3 separate regions of the Homo sapiens genome follow, and all the other regions are linked to region 2. Evidence: promoter capture Hi-C in human tissues and cell types (Jung and others, 2019). All regions are on one chromosome and are shown on one strand. Each heading gives the region's core, a stretch centred on a gene start or on the middle of the fragment in contact. The rest is flanking DNA. Distances are from core to core; before and after follow the strand shown.

Region 1 (4,744 bases), core at 891-3,390, 810 kb after region 2:
TTTTCTTTTTAGTGGAAATAAGGTCTCGCTGTGTTGCCCAGGCTGGTCTCAAACTCCTGAGCTCAAGCAACCTGCTTGCCTCAGCCTCCCAAAGTGCTGAGATTACAGGAGTGAGTCACTGCAATATGCCCAAAGATGTCTTTTATAATATTAATAGAAAAAATCGAAACACAAACATTTGAAAATAATTGTTCACTCTAGAGGAATGGCCACTAAGTTTCAATAGCATATTGATTACAGGGAATTTAACTATTAAGTAACAGGGAAATATTTATATAAGATGTTTAAAAAATAAAATGGTATCTAGGCAATAATTTCAACTACATTAAACATTAATTTGTGAATCCTGAAATTGGTAAAGACATCAAAATATTTTAAAATAGAGAGCTGTAACAGAACACCTGTGGTGTTTTCCTCTTTCTATTTTCCCACATTGGCTAACACAAAGAAAGCATTCATTAACTTAATCAACTGTCATTGACTAAACAACAAAAATGTGCCTGATAAATAACTAGGTACTGGGAATGTAAATGCAAGATCTCTGTCCTGGTGTTGCTCATGATTTATCTAGTCAAAAGACAAGTTACTGCAACAATTTAAAACAAGTTACAAAAAAAGAGCCCTACCCATTATAAGATGAAATGAGTCTACCTGAAGAACAAGCCATGTTCTAAACATCTTATAAAATTAATAGTTTGGAATTAGCATTTTTCATAGAAATATTAACAATGAGTTGTCATTTTCAGAAATCTACTTAACCATTCCATAACATACGTGCAATTCTACACATCAGAAATAGGAAATAGTAAAAACAGTAGTTTTAAAGTCTCTTGACTATCTATATTCTCCCAGTGAGAGTTGATTTAGGAAACAAGCTTTCAACTCACCCAGCTGAGACTCATTTACAACTGAATGTACTCAAATGCTAATTTGATGAGACTTTTTTTCAATTTTTAAATTTTGTTTGTAATTGACAAAAACTGTATATATTTATGATGTATTACATGATGTTTTAAAATGTGTATACATTGTGGAGTGGCTAAATTGAGCTAATTACCATGTACAGTACCTCAAATATTTTTTTTGTGCAAGAACGCTTAAAATCTACTCTCCTAGCAATTTTCAAGCATTGACCAATTTTTCATCTCAATCAGGTAATGGAGACTCATATGCAAACATTCATACTCTGCACAAAGAGGGTGCTGAAGCACCGGGTTAGGAAGCACTGGTAAATTTATAAGATTTTTTACAAGACCTAAGTTAGTCTCTTGTACACAATTCTATTAATACTTTGCTGTCTATGAAATTTTCCACAATGCTCACAAGCTGGGGTTACAATGATATCAGAAGCAGGTAAAAACAGGGAGCTTTTCTTTATGGACATGTTCCAATTCTGGCTGAGGATTACATTTACTTTCTAAAACAGGGTGCTGGAAATGATGACAATGAGGGAATGGAACAGTAATACTTCAGACTTTTCTCTTCAAAAGGGGTAAAATCAACTTTTCTCAAAGCACACTTACCAAGACTTAATGCTTCCTACCTTGTCTTTAGAATTCTATCCTATTGTATGGAAGTTAGGGCAGTAAATGATCTACGGTCCATAATACTTCTTAAGGTCTCTGGGCAAACACCCCCTGAGAAAAGGAGTTATTGGGACTTTCATAGCTAGAGAGGAATCAATCTACTTCACTGAGAGATGTGCATGTTCATTTACAAATATATGTGTTCTAAGTAACCGAGAACTTATTTAGACAAAAATACCCTATTTAGATCTATCCTCCTCCTCTGTGATGTTCCCCTCAAAGCAACAAAAATTCTTATTGACTCAGCTATATTATGCCACTGTGTTAAGAGACTTACTTTCCTCCTCTGTGAAGGAAAAGGCATAAAAAATAAATTCGGAGTTTACTGTCTTTATCTACCTTCATAACTGTGTCCAAAGCTATTTATGTTGACGTTTAACCCTGTGTGTGCTGGAAGAGGGTAGTAGGAGCAGGCATAAATAGGGTTATTGCTGATCAAAGAAACACATTCAGGGCACATGCTCTTCTCTCAGAGGATCTGCTTGCTGGGCTCTGACCTCATAGCAGCTAGAGGAGAATGCCATACATGGAAGCACATCTCTCTCCCTTGACTCCTCACCTAATTCTAGCTTTCCTGGGTGAATTGATTTTTTTGTCTTTTTCCCGAACAAAATGGGGTGAATCCAGGGATCTGAAACGGCATCTCTCAAGTCTGAAGCAAGAAAAAAAAGGCAAAAAATTCTAGCCCTCCTTGCAGCCACACTAAAATGTAAATAATTTCTGCCTCTTACCTGGCTGCAGAATAGTAGATGTGTATGTATCTCACTGACTCTCCATTACTGAGACAGCCACTCCATTTACCAGAGCAAAGAGTAATACACATGTATCTCATTAACTCCATTACTAAAACATGTAGATGAGGAAGACAGAATGCTTGATCATCATTCCAAAATTCTAGAGTAGAATGTTATCAAAAAAAAAAAAAAAAAAAAAAACAGCTGACAAAAATAATTTGAAGGCCTTGTAACATTTCTCTGTGTTTTTTGGCTACCTTGAGTTCTTTCACAGTCACTAAACTGGCTATGCTAATATAGAAACATAAATAGAAAAAAAGATGATTCACAATTAAAATGATAGGCCATGGAATTCAAACTATGTAAGAAGATAAATAAGTACATGGACAGCAAAGAGGTCAGTGGACTTGAGGTCCAGGCAAAGAGAAGAACTTTCCAAGTGGTGGTAACCAGAGTGAGTGAGTTAGGATGCGAAGTGAAGGCTAACACATGAGGGGCCTGAAATCAAAATTTAGGAAGGGATAAGCGGGGAAGAGCAATAGAAAAGAGGAAGTCAAGGGATAAAGAAGGTGAATTTAACTAGGAGAATGCCAATTTCAACAAAAAGTGACCACACACATAAGCAACAGTAGAACAAATACAGTAACCCTTCAACAATACACGGGTTAGGGACACCGACCCACCTGCATGCGGTAGAAAATTTGAGTATAACTCTGACTTCCCCAAAACTTAACGACTCACAGCCTATTGTTAACTAGAAGCCTTACTGATAACATAAACAGTCGATAATACATAAACTACTATTTACATGTATTTTATACATTCATTACAGGCCTTTTCTTAATTTTTTTGATATTTCTAGGCTATGCAATTTGTCCCAAGTTTTTTCAAATTGCTGCAGATCTCCAAAATATTTTTCCAATATATTTATTTAAAACAATCTGCATACAAGTAGACCTGTGCAGTTTAAACCCATAATGCTCAAAAAAAATCTACATACACACTTACACACAAAGAACTGTTTTTAGTATTACTAAATGTATATATCAATTAACGAAAATAATTTTATCAAAAGAAATGATGAAATTTTCTTACTCTTTGAGATGTTTCTGCTGCTGCAGCTGCCATTGCAGCAGCTTTAGCCTTCTCAGCTTCATCGTATGTAGGAAGAGAGGTAGCAACGCTATAGGGAGGTGGCACGGGATAAAACTCACCGTAAACTTCTGTATCTGAAGAAAGAATTCAAAAAGAATAACCAATAAAATCTATTTAATTTTGTAGCCATAGCCATGACTTAATAATTTACAACTGGCCACCAATACAGGACTACTATTGCTATTATAGGCCTATGTTATAAGCTATAAAATATATAAATTACTATTACAATCATATATCTTACTTTAGTCCAAATTTATTATAAAGAGAAAGAATGGATAAATACCGTTTAAAGGCTAATACACTAAACAAGAACCTCTAGAATGAAATTCTGAAAAAGAGTGCCAGACAAGAGAAGTAAGAATCTCATAATATATGAGTATTCTCTATGTGCTTATTAGTATGCACAAAGAACTTAGTTTACTTGCCCACTATCTCACAGCCAAAAAAGCAAAAAGAAAAAGTAATAATAACAAACATTTACATAATACTAACCATTTCATATACCACTTCTGTATACATTGATCTTAGCATCTCTGAGGTTCAGGAAAGTTAAGTTACTTGCACAATATTAAACATTTAAGTGGCAGACACAGGAAGCTCCTGACCCCAAATACTTTGCTCCGATAACATACAAGGGGTAATTTTTTTACACATCTTGATTTCAGCAACGGCTCTAATCTCTTAAGCAAATTCAGTATTTCCCTTTGCTAAAAGATTGAAGTTTTACTTTTCCACTCTTGTCCCTTTCTCTTCCCATTTTTCCTTTATCCAGCTAGTTCTTTAGATTTCCTTTTATAAGTATTTCTCACCCCAATTTTTGAAATATAATCTCCAGAAATACATTACAATAGAAAATACAGACTGCTTATTTTAAAAATAAAACCCATCACTTATTACAACATAAGTAATAAAGTAAAGTGCTATACAGGTCAATCAACTCATTAGACTTATGCTAGAGTCACTGACACACACACAAAAAAGGGAGGTTCTAAAAGTAGCATACACCACACTGTTTGACATCACTTTTGTATTTTCCTCCATTATAACAACAGTAGTTTTATATAAGCATACCTGGTTTTATACACTTTGCTTTTGTGCATTTTGCAAATACTGTGTTTCTTACAAACTGAAGGTTTGCGGCGGCAATTCCACATTGAACAAGTGTATCAGCACCATTTTTCCAAGAGCATGTGCTCACTCTGTGTCTCTGTCCCAGTACTTCTAGCAATATTTCAAATGTTTCCAGTGCCACTATTGTATCTTTTA
Region 2 (4,575 bases), core at 1,518-4,017:
TCTTCCAAAATTAGTCTCAGTTATAATTTTGGAATGTAACATGAGAATCAGTTTGGGGACACATTACAATAGCTGCACTAGACATTTCATTGTGCATGCATCATACATACACAAAAACATAGTTCCTCTTTTGGATTATAATTCTCTAAACTTTGGAGGCACAATATAGTAGCTTGATACTCTTCAGTCTCTGAAAAAGAGTAACAGTTGCAGTAATTAATATAAAGACTAAGGAGTAAATCAGAAAGAATCCAAAGGGTTCTTGTGTTTATCTTGAACTTAAGTTACAGGTTAAATGTTTTCCCAGTCAGCAAACTGGAGATTGTGAGGAAAGGGGGTGGGAGGAAGAGCTAGATGACATGAGATTCTTTATAGCTCATGGAAGATAAGATATAAATTTCTAGATTTTCCCCTATTAACTCCATAAAAATATAAGGTTCTCTAAACAGCTGGAAGTTTCTGATCTAAATTCCATTGCATGCTTTGATCCCTAACGATGTATCTTCGCAAAGTTCCTGCAGCGCTGGGAGACCAGCAAGGCACAGATGTCTCCTAAAAAGCCGCCATCGAGTGCAGGAGTTTGAAGAGGCGAAGCGACGGCGTTGCTTTCACCTGCTCTGCTCGAGAGACTTGCTGGCCGCACACCGGCAGCACGTTCCTGCCTAGCCTTGCACACCCAGGCTTTGACCCTCCCAAGCAGACAGGAGGGCAAGCTATCTTCTGTGTCGTTTATATTAATATCTTTGTATTCATTTTAAACCAGCCGGCCTAATGCACACACGTTTTGGAAGGTAACCCAGCCTGTCCGCGTCGTGTCCCGGAGAAGAAAGCAGCCTTAGCCCCGCGCCGGGCGGGCGCCCCCTGGTGGCCAGAGGGGCCGCGAGCGCAGCGGCGCCTGCGTTCACCGTCGGCTCAATGGATTCGGGCGTCCGGCGAGCGGCTGTGGCCAGAGAGGCCCAGCTGTTTTGCGCCCGCAGTCCCGGGACGCTCGGGAGCAGGCCGTTGTAGCCTCGTCCACCCTCACCTTAGGGGTCGGGGGACGTAGGCCAGCGCCCGGAAATAACGCATGCCACTTCCCTTGCCATCTCTGGTTCCAAATCCCTAGAGAAAGAGGAGAGCCCTAGAGAAACATGGAGAAGTCAGGGTGAGACCGCAGCGAGGCAGAGAGCGCGCTGGGGACATTCTAGAGCAGGAGCTCAGAAGAAGGCAGCTAGTTCCAGGGTAGCTGCAAATGGATTGGGTTAAAGCTGGACGAGTGAAGCACCATGTTTTCCTAACACTGCTTTCAAGAACACCCCGCATGGGGCAAGATCGCAGGTGCTATTCGGGAATTTTGACCGTACAAGCAGGTACTTCCCTGTAAAGTAAAAGCATTCTGTAAGTCGCTCGACAGAATGCAATATTAGGCGTGTGTATGCGCAAGTTTTAATTTTCCACTGGTGCTCCCACGTGAAGGCACATTTCTTAGTAAATGAACGGCAGCTAGGACAGTGCATATGTATGCATTTTCTATCTTTATTTTTTTTTTGTAAATGGGAAAGAATAGTGCACCTTCAACATGGACAACAGAATCTTGAGAAATGTTCTAGGTGGCAAGAAAAGTGGGAAATGAAGGATGACTTTTAGTTAAGGGAAGAAGGAAATCTGCAGTGAGCCAACCCTTCCCTCCCCCCCGCCCCCCCATTTCGGAAGCCCATGCTGTCGCCCTGAGTAATCTTGTTCCTGTCTATTAATGAATTAAGTTAAAAGGCTTAGACTGTAGACTTTAGCTACTGCATGAAGCAAAATAGTAAGGAAGCTCTTCAAAAAGCCTCCATTCATAGATAACCCCCCTTAAAAATGAAATTCTAATAAACGGAAAAACTACAAGTCGACACAATCAAAAGCAAATCCCAGCAAGAGCAGAAGGTACTTGAAACTCGAATCTGCATTCCGTTCCTCCCGTACAAGGCTCGGAGGTGGGGGAGGCGGTTTGTGCTGGTGCCTGGTGTATAATCGGGTTAATCCAGTAGACAAAGAATAAACCAATAGCCCTCCCACCTCACTTCCCGCTCCCCTTCCCCTCCCCCTTCTTCTCCCCCCGCCCCAGCCCCCGTCACCCGCTCCGCAAAGGGGAACAGAAAAGGGGAGAGGTAGACTTGAAATGGATTCTGGATAAAGTCTTAAAACCTGCAACTTGTTTTTCATGCTAACACTGCGTGGCCCAGATTAGTCTTAAATGTTCATTCCCCTTTCCTGGTGGCAAGGAGAAAGTTCCCTAAGTCAGCTCGAGCCTCTGGCTCGTCCTCATTGCCTCTGGGCAAACCTTAAGGTCAGTGTTTCCTTGAAACTAGATAAACTGACCCTGCAGTGCCCAGCCCGGCCCCGCGGGCGCCCCGCGTGACGGCGCTCGGGCGGCAGGACCGGCCTGGGGACGCGCGGGGCGGCGCGGTTGCCCTTTTGAATGCCTCCTGCGGCTCGGAGCGCTGGCGGGCGCTGGAGTGTGAGTGAATGTAGCCCCGCGGAGCCAATGAGCTGGGACCGGATGCGATATATCCTCTGGGACAACAACTGCTCTGTTCCGCCTCGGATCCACATGACGCCATTTACTGCTGCCGCGGCCGCCGCAGAGCTCCCTGCCTCCTCCGGAAAGGCGAGGGCGCAGGCCAACGGCGAGCCCCCCCCGGGCGGGCCCCAGACCCTCCTCCTCCTCCTCCTCCTCCTCTTCCTCCTCCTCCGCACCCACCGCCCCCGCCTCGGCCTCGCTGCCTCGCCTCCACAACGCCCAGTCTGCACCGCCGAGAGCTGCGCGCCGCAGCGCTAGCGGAGGAGAGGGGCCGGCGGAGCGCGCAGCGCCCAGGCCCCCGCGCCCGCCCGGCCCGGCCCGGCCCGCGCCCCCGCGCCGCCTCCGCTACGACGCGGCCCCGGCCGCACCACTTGGCGATCTGGCTTTAGGTTCTCCGTAAGGCCGTTTTCTTTTCCCATTCGCTCATCTGCCAGGAAAAGGGACTTGCCGTTGGCGCTTCGGCCTCTTGTTCATTGAGAAAAAAGAGGAAATACTCCGCGTGCGCTTGTAGAAGGGGAGTCGTCTCCAGCTCCGAACCCCGGAGTGTTCATCAGCGGGGAATCTGGCTCCGAATTCTCTTTTTTTCTCCCGCCGATTGCTCGGAAGTTGGTCTAAAGCAGAGGTTGGAAAGAAAGGAAAAAAGTTTGCATCGAGACTGGATTTATTTGCACATCGCAGAAAGAAGAGAATCCAAGGGAGAGGGGTTGGTGCAAAGCCGCGATCACGGTGAGGCACGTTTGGCTCTTCCCCTCCTGGCGCCGCGGCCGGCGCGTTGTGGGCAACATGGAGTAGGTGCAGCCGGACCAGGAGTTGGGTCCGTCTCTCCCCGAGCCTCCCTTTCTCAAATCCCGCAGGGTCTTCGCGAGGATCCGGGGCGCTCCCCGCGGACCTGCCTCGCCCGGGGCTTGGGCTCGGCCTGCCTCTGCGGGGACTTCTGTATGCACCCCGTGCAGTGTCCCCGACAGGCGACCCCGCGCGCCCGCGCTCTAGGGGGTTGGGACGGAGGACAGCTAGCCTGAAGTCTGCTCCCAGCCGTGCACTGGCCGCGAATTCGGCGCTGAGAGCGGGAGAGGGAGAGAAAAACACTTTGTATTTTCCAGGTTGCCTTTGCAGGCGCCCGCATTTCTAACCTGTTCTTCCTCTTGGTGGAAGGCAAAGTCCAGGGAGAGGCTGTCCCTAGGCGGGGCGCTGGTGGGGCTGGGGGACACAGGTTGCCCGCCTCGGGGGCAGGAGACTTCCAGGGTGAGAAAAAGGCAGGGTGCCGGGTGGAGGGAGTGCCCGCCTCTGCTCCGTGTGGACAGTCTAGCCCGGAGCGGGTGGGAGCGTCGCCCTGCCTGGCGCCGGGTCTCTGCGGTTCGGAAGTGCAGCTCTCTCTCTTCCGTTCTTCGTGGTCAGCCTGGGTCACACTTATTTTATTTTTGGAAGCTCGGGCTGACCCAGCGCAGGAAGAAAGTCATCAAGCGGTCGCGATCATTTTCCATTACCTGAAAGTAGGTGGCAAAATAGGCAATTTTTTATTTCCTTTTGTTGTTGTTGTTGCTGTGTTTTAATTTGGATTCTTGTGTGTTTTTTACAAAGCAGTTTCTGTGTCCGTTTGCCCCACCCTAGAGCTGAAGTTCTTTTCCCCTAATCCTCAGTCTGATCACACACTGTTCTTAATGGGGGTTTCAAAGCACTTTCAAAGGGGAGGGGGGACTGGGAAAGAGAAGAGGGGCGGAGGTAGGGAGTCCAGCTTTGAAGAAGGAGGCCAGGGATCGGATCGGCAGAAATCACTTAAAAAATAAAAACAAAAAAGCCCCCTTTTATTTCAAAGATGCTACTTTGACTGCAAGCAAATCTGCACCGAAAGTTTACAGCTCCGGGAGCTGGGTCCTGCGCGCCCGGAGTGAGCAGTGGGACCCTGGAAAATGCCCTTTTTTTAAAAAGCCATTTTTCTTTCACTTTAAGAAATATGATATCTTTTTTTTTTCTCTCGACCCAAAAGGAGATAGGCGTGTGCAGATTACAGGCAATGCCCCCTTCGGTCAGTG
Region 3 (4,378 bases), core at 1,735-4,234, 740 kb after region 2:
GTGGACACTGGCCATTGTAGTGTGCTCATCTAATTAAGGCAGATCCAGATGAATTTTCAGCTCAATATTTAGAAACTTTTTCAGCACTTCTTAAAATAATCAGAAACACAGCATAAGGGGGTCATAAAACTAAGATTGGGATAACTCCTGTTGAATTAGCAAAAGAAGAGTATTCTGGGCCATGTTTCTTACACTTTAACTTTGCCTCAAACATTGGAATCACCTGAGGAGTTTTTTCAAATTACTGATGCCTGGGCTCCACCTTCGAAGATTCTAATTAAATTGGTGTGGGCTGCTGTCTGGATGGCAGACTATTTTAAGTTCCTCAGGTGATTCTAATGTGCAGCCAAGGTTGAGGACCACTGGCATAGACGCTTCATTAAATCATCTGTTCTTAATTAAGTCTTAGCTATTCTTATGCTGGTAGAGGTTTAAAGGGCTTATCCATTTCCCCCATAGGTTAGAAGTTTCATCAGGGCTTTATTTCTTAATTTTTGTTTTGTTTTGTTTTTTAACCTCTGCCTTTTATTTTTCTTTTAGCCTGCCTAAATGTCTTGTAGAATCTCATCATCACTATTGATTGACTGTTCAACGCAAATGGTGACAGCAACTGGAAGCCTCCCTCCACGAGGCTCTTCTTCCTCAGGTGGTCAGCCTGCTTAATGAGAATCCCAGTTAGGTGTAGCACACCATTGCACTACTGTTACTGCTTCTGCAGGCTAATATTTCAGAAACTGGTTTGATTCCTCGCCATAACAGTCATTTTCCCATTGTCTATCTTTTCCTCCCATTTGTTTTCAACTTTTAATGGATTAAATAATTTTGTACATAAAACCATGCCCAGAAATAACTTATTATTATTATTATTTTGCTTTCAGATGTTTAGAGAGGGAATGTGCTATAGCTAAAGAGGGTGGGATTTGTAGTCAGGAAATGAGTTCAAGTCCCAATTTGCCACTTACTGCTGAGGAGTCACTTTGCATCATTGTGAGAGGTGGCAGCGTGCTGGCAGTCCTCACAGCCCACGCTCGCTCTCTGTGCCTCCTCTGCCTAGGCTCCCACTTTGGCGGCACTTGGGGAGCCCTTCAGCCCACCGCTGCACTGTGGGAGCCCCTTTCTGGGCTGGCCAAGGCCGGAGCCCGCTCCCTCAGCTTGCAGGGAGGTGTGGAGGGAGAGGAGCGAGCGGGAACCTGAGCTGCGCGCTGCGCTTGCGGGCCAGCTGGAGTTCCGGGTGGGCGTGGGCTTGGCGGGCCCCGCACTCGGAGCAGCCGGCCGGCCCTGCCGGCCCTGGGCAATGAGGGGCTTAGCACCCGGGCTGGCGGCTGCAGAAGGTGTACTGGGTCTCCCAGCAGTGCCAGCCCACCGGCGCTGCGCTCAATTTCTCGCTGGGCCTTAGCTGCTTTCCCACGGGGCAGGGCTCGGGAACTGCAGCCCGCCATGCCTGAGCCTCCCACCCTCTCCGTGGGCTCCTGTGCGGCCCGAGCCTCCTCGACGAGCGCCATCCCCTGCTCCACTGCGCCCAGTCCCATCGACAACCCAACGGCTGAGGAGTGCAGGCGCATGGCACGGGACTGGCAGGCAGCTCCACCTGCAGCCCCAGTGCGGGATCTACTGGGTGAAGCCAGCTGGGCTCCTGAGTCTGGTGGGGCCTTGGAGAACCTTTATGTCTAGCTCAGGGATTGTAAATACACCAATTGGCACTCTGTCTCTAGCTCAAGGTTTGTAAACACACCAATCAGCACCCTGTGTCTAGCTCAGGGTTTGTGAATGCACCCATCGACACTCTGTATCTAGCTACTCTGGTGGGGCCTTGGAGAACCTTTGTGTCAATACTCTGTAGCTAACTAATCTGGTGGGGACGTGGAGAACCTTTGTGTCTAGCTCAGGGATTGTAAACGCACCAATCAGCACCCTGTCAAAACAAACCACTGGGCTCTACCAATCAGCAGGACATGGGTGGGGCCAGATAAGAATAAGAGCAGGCTGCCCGAACCAGCAGTGGCAACTCGCTCGGGTCCCTTTCCACACTGTGGAAGTTTTGTTCTTTAGCTCTTTGCAATAAATCTCGCTGCTGCTCACTCTGTAACACTCACCGTGAAGGTCTGCAGCTTCACTCCTGAAGCCAGCGAGATCACGAGCCCACCGGGAGGAACGAACAACTCCAGTTGCGCCACCTTAAGAGCTGTAACACTCACCGCGAAGGTCTGCAGCTTCACTCCTGAGCCAGCGAGACCACGAACCCACCAGAAGGAAGAAACTCCAAACACATCTGAACATCAGAAGGAGCAAACTCCGACACGCCGCCTTTAAGAACTGTAACACTCACTGCCAGGGTCTGCGGCTTCATTCTTGAAGTCAGTGAGACCAAGAACCTACCAATTCCAGACACAATTGCTAGGCCTCAATTTTCTAATTTATAGTAGGATAATAATAGTATAGGGTTGTTAAGATACAAGGATCATATGTATAAAAAGCATTTTATAAAATATAAAACATTTTTCAAATATTATGATTGTGAAAGGAATAAGTGAAACCTTATACAACCGATAAAATTGTGTATAACAATTAGTATCACTCATTTAGAATAGACATAACTTTCCATTTGTCTGTCCTTTCTCATTTGCCTCATCTATCAGATCCCACATCCCTGTCTAAATTTTAACTCAGTTACCTTTATTTTCAACTCTACTGATATTTGTCATATAAACTCAAAACAGATGTGTCATTATGAACAAAAGTATTCCTTTTCCCAAGGACCTCTTTAGAAGAAAGCTAATAGGTACTGTTCAATCATTCATTAGGCAGATGTGTACTGAGAACCTGCCAGGTGGCAGGCACTGTGCAAGGATCTGTGGTTGAAGAAATGACCAGGACAGGACATTGGTAGAGCTTAAGTCTAGCAGAAATGTAATCAATGTTGCAACTGGAAAAGATTATTTGCAGGGACCTCACATAGTCAAGGGTTAGAAAAAATCACTTCGAGCCAAGTGAAGCTTAGCAAATTTGCCAGCCCAAACAGAGCTAGACAGGGTTGGTGCCCAGGCATGGAGAACAGCAAGGTCTGAGTGACAGAGACCACAGTTCGTTAGGGTAACTGAAAGAACTTCAGTGTACCTGGAGTGTGAGAGAGGGAAAGTGTTGAGTGAAGAGGCTAGAAAGGTCAACATTAACCATAAGCCTCAGAACCCTATCAAGGGATTTGGATTTTATCCTAAGGGCATTGGGAAGTCATTAAAAGATTTGAAACAGGAGAGTATGTAATCAGATTTCTAGGGGTTTTGTTTGTTCTGTTTCCTTTGTCTGGTTGCAATGTGGAGTATGTGTTTGGGAAAGGAATAAGGCAAGGAGACCAGATGTAATACTCCTGAGGTCAGATGTTGTGATCAGGCTTCGTATTATGATAAATGGGGTTGGAGAGACATAGAAGGGAGCAATTTTTGTAAAACATAGATCTGATCGTGTCACTCCCATAATCAAAACTCTTCAAGCCTCTCCCATTGTACTTAGGATAAAATTTCAGAATTCTTAACATGGCCTAAAGAGCTCTTTGTGTTCTGGCCCCGTTCCTCTTGCACACTCACCCTTTCTGTTCTTTATAGGTACCAAGCTCTTGGGACATGAGGAGGATCACTCATAACCTACCTAAAAACTTTGTATGAGACAAAACTGTTTGGTTCACTGCTTTATTCCAAAAGCAGTGAATGAATGAAGTGTGTGGTTTAAGACATATTTACAAAGTCAACAGAATTTGGAGGGGAGATGAACAAGGAGATGTTAAAAGATGAAACAAAGGTTCTGGCTTGAATAACTGGGTGGTTTACAAAAGAGACAGAAAAGATGGTTCAATATAGCTTATGTTGAGTTTGACATGCTGCAAGGTACGCAAGAGAAGATGTTAAATGGGCAATTGGATACAAGTATTTAACATGTACCAGATTCCGTTAGGTCCTTTCACACGTATTTTCTCACTTAATTAACTAAAGACAAATGTAGATAGAAACAATTAACTATATGACCTAATTTTTAAAAGTACTTTCTACACTAACTATGTTAATGCAGACTATGAATATCCCCATACCTATTTATCTGGGGAAATGAGCAATTTATCATGGAGAAATTTAAAAACTGTTTAAAAACTGATTTGAAACATTTCATTTATAAAGTATCCCTGTAGCACAATTATGGGAAGACTTAAAGAAACAAAAACAAGTACAAATTGTTGGGTGAATAATTTCAGTCCCATGGAGCAATTTTAGCCTGTTCTATTTATTTGCATGAGTAATCATGGGGCCCAGCTCATTTTAAATCAGCACAGTTGAGGTAAAGAAGAAAATAACCTATCAGTCCTACATCCAACAAGACTCATTACTCCATATCA

The links. The method cuts DNA at HindIII sites, captures the fragments that hold promoters and counts their contacts. A contact is called where the count stands out against the background at its distance.
Region 1: a contact is called between a fragment that was not itself captured here and the fragment with the promoter of SPRY2 in region 2, in 1 of the 25 tissues and cell types used here (lymphoblastoid cells).
Region 3: a contact is called between a fragment that was not itself captured here and the fragment with the promoter of SPRY2 in region 2, in 1 of the 25 tissues and cell types used here (dorsolateral prefrontal cortex).

What each region holds. Positions count from the first base shown.
Region 1 is chr13:79,532,128-79,536,871 of GRCh38, reverse strand. NDFIP2 (Nedd4 family interacting protein 2) reads right to left here. Exons shown (of 8, transcript NM_019080.3): 3 at 3,416-3,549. Among named protein-coding and RNA genes, the nearest start is that of LINC01068, 32 kb to the left of the region's middle. The HindIII fragment of the contact is 7,080 bases long and covers 1-4,744 here.
Region 2 is chr13:80,339,318-80,343,892 of GRCh38, reverse strand. It overlaps SPRY2 (sprouty RTK signaling antagonist 2), which reads left to right and starts at 2,767. Exons shown (of 2, transcript NM_005842.4): 1 at 2,767-3,271. RefSeq lists an enhancer at 145-943 and silencers at 761-950, 2,350-2,399, 2,630-2,819. The HindIII fragment of the contact is 11,668 bases long and covers 1-4,575 here.
Region 3 is chr13:79,597,334-79,601,711 of GRCh38, reverse strand. No RefSeq gene overlaps it. Among named protein-coding and RNA genes, the nearest start is that of LINC01068, 33 kb to the right of the region's middle. The HindIII fragment of the contact is 7,169 bases long and covers 1-4,378 here.